Regions from separate parts of the Homo sapiens genome. Here region 1 is linked to region 2. Evidence: promoter capture Hi-C in human tissues and cell types (Jung and others, 2019). All regions are on one chromosome and are shown on one strand. Each heading gives the region's core, a stretch centred on a gene start or on the middle of the fragment in contact. The rest is flanking DNA. Distances are from core to core; before and after follow the strand shown. Region 1 overlaps DHRS12 (dehydrogenase/reductase 12). Region 2 holds the start of SERPINE3 (serpin family E member 3).

What was found. The method cuts DNA at HindIII sites, captures the fragments that hold promoters and counts their contacts. A contact is called where the count stands out against the background at its distance.
Region 1: a contact is called between a fragment that was not itself captured here and the fragment with the promoter of SERPINE3 in region 2, in 2 of the 25 tissues and cell types used here (lymphoblastoid cells and mesendoderm cells).

What each region holds. Positions count from the first base shown.
Region 1 is chr13:51,794,998-51,800,166 of GRCh38, forward strand. DHRS12 (dehydrogenase/reductase 12) reads right to left here. Exons shown (of 9, transcript NM_001377533.1): 2 at 4,537-4,670. The coding sequence starts at 4,662. Among named protein-coding and RNA genes, the nearest start is that of DHRS12, 6.6 kb to the right of the region's middle. RefSeq lists enhancers at 2,056-2,584, 2,655-2,734. The HindIII fragment of the contact is 5,377 bases long and covers 1,117-5,169 here.
Region 2 is chr13:51,336,345-51,342,223 of GRCh38, forward strand. It overlaps SERPINE3 (serpin family E member 3), which reads left to right and starts at 3,347. Exons shown (of 10, transcript NM_001386375.1): 1 at 3,347-3,399; 2 at 4,440-4,517; 3 at 4,731-5,003. The coding sequence starts at 4,748. It also overlaps a transcript of INTS6 not described here. The HindIII fragment of the contact is 9,065 bases long and covers 1-4,415 here.

The sequences.
Region 1 (5,169 bases), core at 2,555-5,054, 460 kb after region 2:
TTAAGCCACACATAACCTCTCTGAAAGATCACCTCAGCATGATATTCACCTCTCTATATGGCCAAACACCTGATCTTACCAAGCCAGCGTGTACAAGCAGCTGAGATCCCCACGTGACCTTGAGCCTTACCTGGTGCCTGTGCTCCCTGGCTCAGCTGGCCTGCCGCACACCTCACCCAGACCCTCCTGCCCAAGGGACCTTCTTTCTTTGATGTTCACCCAACCATGCACGCAGGACCAGCTGCTCCACTGCCCTCACAGCTCTACCACACATCTTTTCTGCTACTGGGGGCTTGCAGGCTTCCACCTCCCACTGAGCAGGGCCTAAGCACTGATTAAACAGAACACACTTGAAGCAGAGAATGTAAGGTTGGGAGTGGTAATAATATTAGTATAAACAATAATGATAATACCAACAATAATAATAGTAGCTACTTCTATTGATTGAGAGCTGTTTGTTCTTAGGATACCCTGAGCTTCCCATCTTGTAGCCCTTATCATGTTATTTCAGTAACATCTAACAGACACCTCTTTCAACAGAGGGAACTGAACGCAGGGATTGATTTCCCAGGTGATTAAGGAAGGTGAGAACTCAACCAGGATTGGTGAAGTAACCCAGAGATTAGTAACAACAGGAAACTACCACCAGCCCTAGGCTCAAGGAACAAAGGGAGAATGCAGTGTGGCCTGAGCCCAGGAACCAGAAGGAAGAACCAGAGAGGAGATTCGCCATCACCAGGGAAGCCAATATCTCAATTCCCCCCTTCCTTTCACCTAGCAATCTTCCTCTAGTAACTGCCATTGGCCAAACCCAGCCAAAAGCTGTCTGGTTGTAGGAGCTGAAGAAACACATACCTTGGGGTTCATACTATTTGTCCCCCAACCCACCCCCACTATGATACAGAGCATGGCGGCCAGGCCCAGGGCAGGCACACACACTTCAAGGAAACTGTTAATCACTTGTATCCTGCACAAGACTGTCTGGGGCTGTGTCTGTCCCAATCACTGTGTCTCCAGCTGTTTGGCATACGGTTCACCCTTAAATACATGTTAAAAAACTAATAAAGTCAAGTTACCCCTATTTTTTAATGAGGAAATGAATGTTCAGGGAAGCTAAGAACTTTGCCCAAGCTCACAGGCCAGAAAGTGCAAAACCAGGACTCGTATCAGAGCCCAACTCCCTCCTTCATACCACGCTTTTGTGTGTGGGCTGCCTACCAAAGGTAGACCAGATGAAGCTGTGGAGTGGGGCCTCTTCATAAGCAGGGAGGGACAGCTGATCCCTGGCAGAGCCTGGAGGAGACACTGAGTCAGGGAAACCACAGACACTGGCATAAGCAGACAGGTACCCTCATCCTGGACGCTCCACCTCTGAGTGCTGGAGGCCACTTATAAACCCGAGAGAGCAGTGAATGTCCTGTGTGTGCATTCAAATCCCGTCAAGTGTATCTGTATGGAGGTGAGGGGGGCAGTAGGCAAGGGCTTGCTTTCTCCCCAGTGCAGGAACATGCTTGCTCCCCTTTTCAGCTCTCTACCCCTCCTAAACATGGTGGAATTAGATATAAGCCAAACAGATCCATATTATCATCATTTTTCATTTAAATATACTTTTTAAAGCCTGTGGCCCACACCACAGCAGGCTGGAATCCAGGCAAACCTCCTCCTGTCCGTGGCCTGAGATTAGTATTCTTGTTGCATCCTGCAGCAGCACCACCGAAAGTTATCAGCAGGCAGACAGCCAGCTTTCAATCTCGAGAACTGCAGCCCGCAGATCGCAGCGGCACTTGCAGACATTAGAGGAAGATTTAGAGACCCTCACACTTGCCGCCAGCACTAAGCCTCTGTAAGGCACCTGATGGCATGAGACTGGGGATTTCCATGAGAAAGGGAAAGGAACAGACACTTGGTGTGAAAATGTTATTTCAAAGTTGATGCAAAATATTCCATCCTAGAGAGGGGCATTCTTCTCTTTGACCAGGGTCCATGCCTGAGGGTGGGTACTGTCTGTCCCTCCCCAGCTTCCCTCCTACAGGCCCTCCAATTGTGGGGTCTCCTAGAGAAGAGGTAGGAATGGAATGAGGATGTTCTTTAGTGACAGTGAGCGAGCAGCCATGACTGAGGGTCCTTTTGGGGGTCAGGGTTTTCCATTCAGGGCAGCCTTATGGCTACACGATGGATCATGGGAATATGATCTATACAGCTGCACACGCCCTGCGACTGGAAAGGCCTCAAGCTTGGTTTAATGTCCTGCCTTTGTTGTGTAGAAATTCTAAATAACTTTTACACAAGGGTCTTGCATTTTCATTTTGCACCGAGCCCCACTAATTATGTAGCCAATCCTGGTTCCAGCTCTTTCAGAACAGAAAGACCACAAAATGTGAGGCAGCTCTGAAGGCTCGTGTCAGAAAGTAGCTCTCATCAAGACCCAAATGCTGCCGGTGTTTCTCTTTATTAGAGCACATCGGGTCAATGCATGGCTCCGTGGCACCCGGGTGACCCTTGCTGTGTGTTGCTGATGTGGGCTCCCTCTGAGGTGAGGAGACTGGAAGTATCACTGTCCAGTGTAATGGGCCTCTGCCTGCTGGCCTCTGCTGGTTTCACAGGCAGCTCAGGACCATGCGGTCAAGCCTCAGTGCCCCCACTTATCCCCTTGTCAAACCTAGCCATTCAAAAGCAGGGCCCAGCTCCCTGCTGGCCGAGGCTGCTTCCAAAGCAGAAGCACAAACACAGGCCCTCTTCAACCCAGGGAAAGCGGGTAGGAGTCCAGCCTCCTCACAGCTGACCATGGAGGCAAGGAAACCCAGCAGGAGGGGTGAGGAGCTGCTCACCTGGTTACCGCTCTCCCGGATGATCTCACCCCTGGCATCTTCTGCTGGGGCTTGATCTCGACAAACCAGGTGAACTGTGCCACCTGGTGGAATTCAATGAAACCATCTGTGAGTTACAGCGAGAGCTACAGAAACCAGCTCTTCCTAATGAAAAATGAAGACATATGGGCTCACAGTTGACACTCTTCTGTTAAGCCTAGATGGGTGGTTCCCAGAGTTAAGAGCAGCAAGGGCGATGGTGAGGGAGGTGCTGGAACCTTATTGCCTACCTGTGCTGACAGTGCGTCTGGAATAACATCCTGATTTTTTGAGGGCCTGAACACATCAAGGATAAGAAACATTGATCTGGGTCACATATGCCTCCCTAGCATCTAGCATAGTAGCTGACCCAGATGTGTTAAACCTGGCTGCACTTTAGACTCATGTAGGGAGCTTTTAAAGATCTAGGCGATAGGCCCAGGACTGGGTATGTTTTACAAGCTCCCCTGGTGATGTAATGTTCAGCCAAAGTAGACAGCCACTTGCCTAGCATGTAGTAGAGACTCAAGTATTGACTGAATGTTGAGTCCATCAGCAGCCCTCATATTATCCCAGCAAATGCCACACCATCATCAATCAAGGTCAATTTAAAGCAGAATGCCTTCGCCGTGGCAGCTAAGAACGAATCGTTATGGAGTCTGCTTTCTTTACTAAAAATCACCCACTTGATTAAATGGGGTGTTTCATGGGAGGCTACAGGCTAACCACAACACTAGCCCCTCTTCTCTCCTCCTCTCCGCACTTCAGAGTGCTTCCCAGCTGCTAAGATGCAATTAATCCTCTCCCTGACTTGGCAGATAATTAAATAAAGCTTCAAATGATATAATAGTCCCCTGAAAAATGCCTAACTTGGATTTAGAGAGAGGAAAAAAGAAAACATCTTCAGCATCTTAAAAAGTGATAAATTCACAACCTAGTTCCCCACCTTCTGCTGGAACATCCATTTTTCCTGAAGAGGCTCTGGAGAGATGCAGCAAACTTTTCTAGCCACTGCAGAGCCATTTGGTGACCCAGGATCGTTGAGCTCATGCAGGAAATTCTGGCATTTACCATGAGGAAGACTTCTGCTGACTGAAGACTTTACAGTGCACCTGAAGCACCTCTTTATAGTCAAGCTTAGGGGAGGGAAGCGGGAGGCTGCTCTAGCCCTGGAGGCTGGACCCCAGCAAGGAGGAAGTTTAGTTCAATGCACTCCTCTCTCCAGGTATTTTGGGGGCCTTGGTTCATAACTACCATCCACATCCAAATTGCAGTGGACTTTGAGGCTCCCCCTCCCCTTGTCTCTCACCCCAGGAGAGTCTCATTGAGAAGACATGAGTTAGAGACCAGGTGTTCATGTTTTTGTTTTTGTTTTTTTAATTAAATTCCACTGGGGATTCTGATGTCCAGGGTTTGCTTGAGCCCCTCGCTGTTCTTAATCAGAAAACACTGGGACACGTGGGCAGGACCCCAAGCTCGCCTGAGAATTAATTAAGTGTTGAGGAAAGGGCTCCTGTTGCTCTAGCCACCTGGAGCTCAAAACTCAGAAAGCTGGCAGCTGTGCCCAGAACCATGGGATCGCCGTCCAGGACTTCCTGGCCTGCCTGTGACACAGGGTGCCCTCCTCAGTGTGGACCGGCCGCAGTCTGGCCGTGGGGCTCAGTGGACACACGTGTTAGCAGCTGCTTACCTCGCTTGGCGATTTCAAGGGCAGTTGCTTTGCCAATGCCGCTGTTTCCTCCAGTGACCAAAAAGACTCTTCCAGGAATCTGGACCTCCAAGTCATGAGGGACAAAGTCTTTACATGCAGATTCATAGCCACTCCTAGAAAGAGGAGACCCACAGGAAGACCAGCTGTAAGGAGTGGGGAACACAAACCCCTGCAGGAGAAAGCCTAATTCTAGGATGGGCATTATTGCTGTCTCCGCCTCTCCCAACACATCACGAAACTCCTTTCTCCCTTGCCCTCCCTGCTCTCACAAACACCACTATCTCGGGGCCTGCATTTCCTGGACCATGATCTTTCCAAACTTTTGAAAATATTGGAGATTCCAACATTTTGGCATCCAAATTGTCTTCCTCTGACTGCCCCGATCCTGGGGAGTGGCAAAAAGAAAAAAAATCCCTTGACAGATGAATTGCTCTTTTCCCTTTTGTGGGGGGCAGGTTTCAGGAAGCTTAGGAGACCATTTGCATTGTGCTTATTGCATTGCAGGACAGATATCCTTGCCTACTTGGAGAAACGGGGGAGATTTGCAAGTAGGGAATAAAGGAGGAGGATGGTAGAGTTATTTAAGCTCTGCACCCATCAGAGGAAGCCAAG
Region 2 (5,879 bases), core at 2,097-4,596:
GGCATGGTGGCAGCCCTCTGTAATCCCAGCTACTCGCGAGGCTGAGGCAGGAGAATTGCTTGAACCCGGGAGGCAGAGGTTGCAGTGAGCCGAGGTCGTGCCACCGCACTCCAGCCTCGGTGACAGAGCAAAACCCTGTCTCAAAAAAAAATTAATTAAAAAAATAAAAACATATTTCTGGATACAACAGCATAGATTCATAGTCCAGCCGGTTACATGACGATTCCAAAGCCCCTTCTTATGTGAGCATGAAAGGACCTCGATGGTCCTTTCTTAAGTAAGATGAGATGAGAGATGGGGACATAGTCCAAAGAAGTTGATGCTTTCAGCCTTTCCTGCTTATCAGGCACCATGATAAGGCTGTTTGCTGTCATCTTCACAGTGAGAGGTAGGTATCATACACCCACTTTGCAGAAGAGGCAACTAAAGCTCAGAGCAATTCAGTGACTTGCCCAAAATCTGCCAGCCCACTGTGCTCTCTCCAGCACACCATTCTGAAAGGTATCAAAAAGTAGAGGGGCCCAGGTTCATTTTGAGTCTATGCACTGCATAGCTGTGAAGTACCAGAGGGCCGTGTTGCAGCTATCAGCCGGGACAGCAGGAAGCCCAGCGGCAGCGCTTTGCCGTTGCCTTCCTGGAAGGACAGGTGGAGGCTCACCTGCACCATTTCCCATGAAGTACTTGCTAATTTCATCTGGCTGTGCAGCACCATGTGCTGGGCTACCTTGCATTGCCCTCTGGCTTGCTCTAGCTGTTCCCTCAGACTTCTTTTAACAGTGCCCATGTCTTCCTCAGTGGGTGTGCTCTCTCTTCATGGCAAAATCCTCAAGGTCAGGGCTACAAATGGGACTCCTCCTGTACAACCCCAGACAGGCAGCCCATACAAGCACAAAGGAGATGCCTACCTATTAATTATGTCCTTACTGAATTGAAATGCAATGCTTCTATCCATCACATTAGTTTGGTAGACCTTTGGATTTGAAAGTGATTTGTTTATAAGAATCGGCTAGTGAAAAATGTTAAACCATAATTTTTAAAAGTGCTGGGCCTCATAGCAGTCTACCTACAGGTGATTCACCACAGCATTCCTGGTAAATGTGGGCAAAGTGAACACGCATTACGAGCAAAACAGTCTGGGCTGGCCATCGAAAGGCTTAGAATCCTACAGCCAAGAGGGATTTTAAGAGACCTCATCCCTTGGCTCCTGACAGCACCAAGACTGTGATGAAGGGCATGTGCCTTAGTGTCAAGGTGGCCCTAGGTTCAAACCCCAGCTTGGCCTGGTGGGACCTTAGGCAAGATCTTAAGCTCTTCAGACTTAGTTTCTTCATCTGCAAAATGGGAATGATAATACATTCCTCATAGGATTGCTGTGAGGATTCATTGCAATTGTGAATGGACAGGGTCTAATAGAGTAGCTGGAACACAGTAAGTGCTCAGTAATGCTCTCTATATATGTTGTTAAAATTACAAATAAATATCTCCAAGAATGGAGCCTCACTTAGCAGTATAATGAACATCCATCCCAGCAAGATAGAAATAAACATGATAATCTCTGCTTAAATGGTCAGAGACCACAGTGACTTACCCAGGTTCAAGGCTGAGTACACAGAAGAAAAATCACTTGCAGTTCATCTTTCATTCATTCACACTTTGAAATGTTTAGCCTATATAGAAAATATATCCTGTATGTTAAATTTCCCTAGCATTTTTCCCGAAGGATGCTTCTTAAAAGCAAGTTAGAATGGCATATTCATAGAGTTAGAAAGAAATGTTTGTAGAAGTTACACAAACAACCTTTTTTTAATTTGGGAAATCTTTTTATAAGCTTCTCTCCACTGCTACCACTGGCAAATAGTGAATCAGCTGTTTCCCCTGGAATTCCTGCTACAGGCAGCTCACAATGTGACAAGGCAGTCCTCACAAGTTACTGCCGCTCCATCACCATCAACATCTAAAATACGCAGGCAGTGAGCAAGACTCTAAGTCCCATAGAAGCTGAGCCCAGGTTACTGGTTCACTGCCATATGCCCAGAACCTAGCAGCACAGTGATTTGTGACCAAGCAGGTGATCAAGAGATATTTGTTGGATGGATGGATAGGTGGATGGATGGATGGATGGATGGATGGATGGATGGATGGATGCACGGACAGACGGATGGATGGACAGATGAATGGACAGATGGATTGATGGATGCATGGATGGATGGACAGATGGACAGATGGATGAATGATATGCCCTCTCTGGGTGCTATAGAATAAGTTAAACCTGTTTATTCTCCTTTCATACTATGGCTTAGAGAATACCCTGTCCATTCACAATTGCATTGAATCTAAAGTAAAGATTTGGGGATATTTTATGTGATGCAATTATAGAACTGTAACTATCCTAAGACCTGTAAACAATCCCAGGTTTGGGTGTCAGCAATAAAACTCTTTAAAGTGAATTACCCACTGATTACAGGGGTAGTTGTCAAGTGAAAACAGTCCATTGATTTTCAAATATTAACACTTACAGATGCCTGAGAGATAATTATTAAGAATTGCATTCAGTTCTTCTTTAATCTGTAACCACATATAAGCTACCATCTATTTTGAACTTAATACAAGGCCTAAGTCCTTAATAAAAATGTATGTAATTCTGAATTGATCACAAGGACAGACTTTTGACAGAACCTGCTCATATTTTTCAAAAATATGTGTCTACTCGTTGACAACATGGTCTCTTTCTCAAATTAGTCATTGGACTTACGAACTGTTGTATCTGAGAAGAACCAGATTATTAATAACTCAAGTTACATATATAAATTAGTGCATTCACTTTGATAAATAATAAATGAGGCAAGTCACCCTGCTCCGAACTGATCGTGCCATATCTTGCGTTGTTTTCTCTTTTGCAGAATTTCTTTTCATTTGCTGAAAGTTTTAAGTCATGCCCAATGACTGATTTATTGTTTTCTTCACAGGAGGAGGGGGGAAGCATTAGGTACCTGGTACCCAGCAAAAGCCCAACAAGCAAAGTTATCAGTGGAATTCCTCAATGTGACAAAGGGCTGGATGAGGGGTTCCTTGCTGGTACAACCAGGTCACAAGCCTAAGAAGGCTTGACGGGTGTGGCTGGCTCTCCCCCCACGGCCCTGCTCTGTTCCCGATCTGGGCTTTGCTGCCCTGGGCTGGGCTGCTTCTCCTGGCTCTCTGCAGGACCTCCAGGCTCCAGGAATTTGGACCGAGTGGTAGAGACATCGCCGGCAGAGACGGCAATCGCCAGCTTCCTCTCTGTGCTGTCTTGTGATTCAAAGCAGATTCTGCTCCACTTTTTTAAAAGGGGAGCACATGAATGCTGGAGACCCACAAGAACAGAGTCGAGCAAGGAAACGTGCAACAGTGATACAAAAGTCTGTGAGTACGTGGCTCATTCGAGGTGAGCCATGACAGGGATTTGTTCATGGGGAGCCCAGGGGCATCAAGGTCTGATTGCTGAGAGTGTTCTTGTGGGAGATGGGAGGTTATAAGAGCTGTGAGAACCCTGGGGCTTAAGAGTTTTGCAAATGACCCTGGGCTGGGACACACACACACACACATAGAAAGAAAGAGAGAGAGAGAGAGCCCTATGTACCAAGGTCATCCAAGCACTGCATTTGTACTTGGCTGTAGGGAGGAAGGGTTGGAAAAAAGAGAAGATGTTTTCTATCTTGGACCTTTACCTAAAATAGGCACCATCGTGCTCAGTGGCCTTGCTTGTAAACTTCTACAGGAGGGTGAGTTGGAGAGAGTGAGTGTGAGCGTGAGTAGCAGGGTGAGCTGCTCACTGGTGAGTCCAGGAAGTGACTCTGGACCTCTTCTTACATCAGTTTGGTATGATACCACAGTCAGACAACTTAACAAAAACTGCTGCTGGCTGGATGTGTGGCATGGTCGTTGAAAACATTTTTTTACTTTGCCTTTCTCTTCTTGCATTATTTTCTAGTTAATGATCTCTCTTCCTTGGAAGAGTACATTTCTGGGGTAGGAACTATCTTTGTGAAAATATTCTTTTTTAGAGACTAATTTGCATCACAAGAATTCTGATATTCGAGGTACAATTAGTTCATGTATCAATATTTTAATTCACATAGGTATTCTCAAAATTTTATATACCACTCATAGAAGACCAGGATTTGAGTCACAGCACTGTTTCTTTCCCCATACAAATGAGTCACTGGGCCTCAAAGGTTCAATCATCCTCTTTATAGATGAAATATAATAACAGATACTAGTGAGATTGTTGGGATGATTAACTGCAAATGTACAAAGTCCTTTTTAACATAGTAGATAATTATTTATTATTATTCCTGATAGACACAGCACAGCTATAAGCTGACTATATACCAAGAACAATGAGTAGGATTACCTCTTACATTTCTTTTCCCAACATAATGCTTTGCTTCTGATCTGACCAGGGCTTTGCTAAAGTCACACATCCAGTAAGTGGCCGAAGCAGATCTTCAGACCCACAGTTTGGCTGCCAAAGGACCACAGTGAGTATTTCTAATGCTGAAACAAGAGGGTGCAGCTCTGCAGCCCAGACGGCTGGGCCTCAGGGTAGGTAACCAAGACAGCTCAATGCATCTCTCCCTCAGCCGTCCCTAGCCCCTAAAAACAGAGCTGGGGGTCCCAGTCCTCTGTGGGACATGGCCCTCTTTCATCACCAGCTTCCAGCCTACCCTGCATCTCTTCCCTCTGAATTGCAGGAACCCTCCCAGCCTCCATGCCGCCTTTCCTGATCACCCTCTTCCTCTTTCACTCTTGCTGCCTCCGAGCAAATGGCCACCTCCGTGAAGGAATGACATTGCTGAAGACTGAGTTTGCACTTCACCTCTACCAGAGTGTGGCCGCGTGTAGAAATGAGACGAACTTTGTCATCTCTCCTGCTGGTGTGTCCCTCCCCCTGGAGATCCTGCAGTTTGGAGCAGAAGGGAGCACTGGTCAGCAGCTGGCAGATGCCCTGGGGTACACTGTCCATGGTAAGAGGCCTGCCCACGTGCACACTCACTTACCCTCCTGTTCACACTCACACTCTCTCCAGCTCACCCTCCTGCTCACACTCACACTCACTCTCTCCAGCTTACCCTGCTGCTCATACTCACACTCACTCTCTCCAGCTCACCCTGCTGCTCAGGCTACCTGGGAGATAGGGAGCTCAGCTCCCTATGGTGTGCACATGGGGAAGAGTGATCACTGGACAGGTCTGTGACAGAAGGCATTCAGACTTTGGGATGGTGGTGACCCTTGAATTTTAAGGTTCCCTTCTAACCTAATAGGTTTCATGGCAATGTTTCAGTTTCATTTGACACACCCTAGCATAGTGCCTTCCTAGGTGCCAGGCAGTGCTGGAGGCACTTACAAACATTAATTGAATTAATTGTCACAACAGCTCTGTTGAGGATGATAATTTTATTATCATCCCAATTTCAGAGATGAGCAAATAGGCATGGAGAGTTGAAGCAACTTGCTCAAGTTCACAGAGCCAATAAGTGACAGAGTTGGGACTCAAGCCCAGGCTGCCTGGTTTAAGAGCCCATGCTTTTGACCAACCTGCTTTTATAAATCTGTGACTTCTAGCCAGTGCCAGATCTGCCAGCTTATTTCTATGGATTATGTATTTTAGAGCGGCTTTGCCGGCAGCAGCATGAGTCTTTCGAATGCCAGGTCAGCTTCCCCTCTGCTTACGCTCAGTGCCTCAGCTCAATGCCTGGCCTCAGAACCAATCTACCAACTCCAGCTAAAACAGATACTCACACACATTAACATTTTTCTTCCTAGACTAGGATCTAGGAATTCAGCAAAGACAGAACAAAAAAAAAAAAAAAAAAAAAAGAGGCTATGAGCTCTGCGGCCTC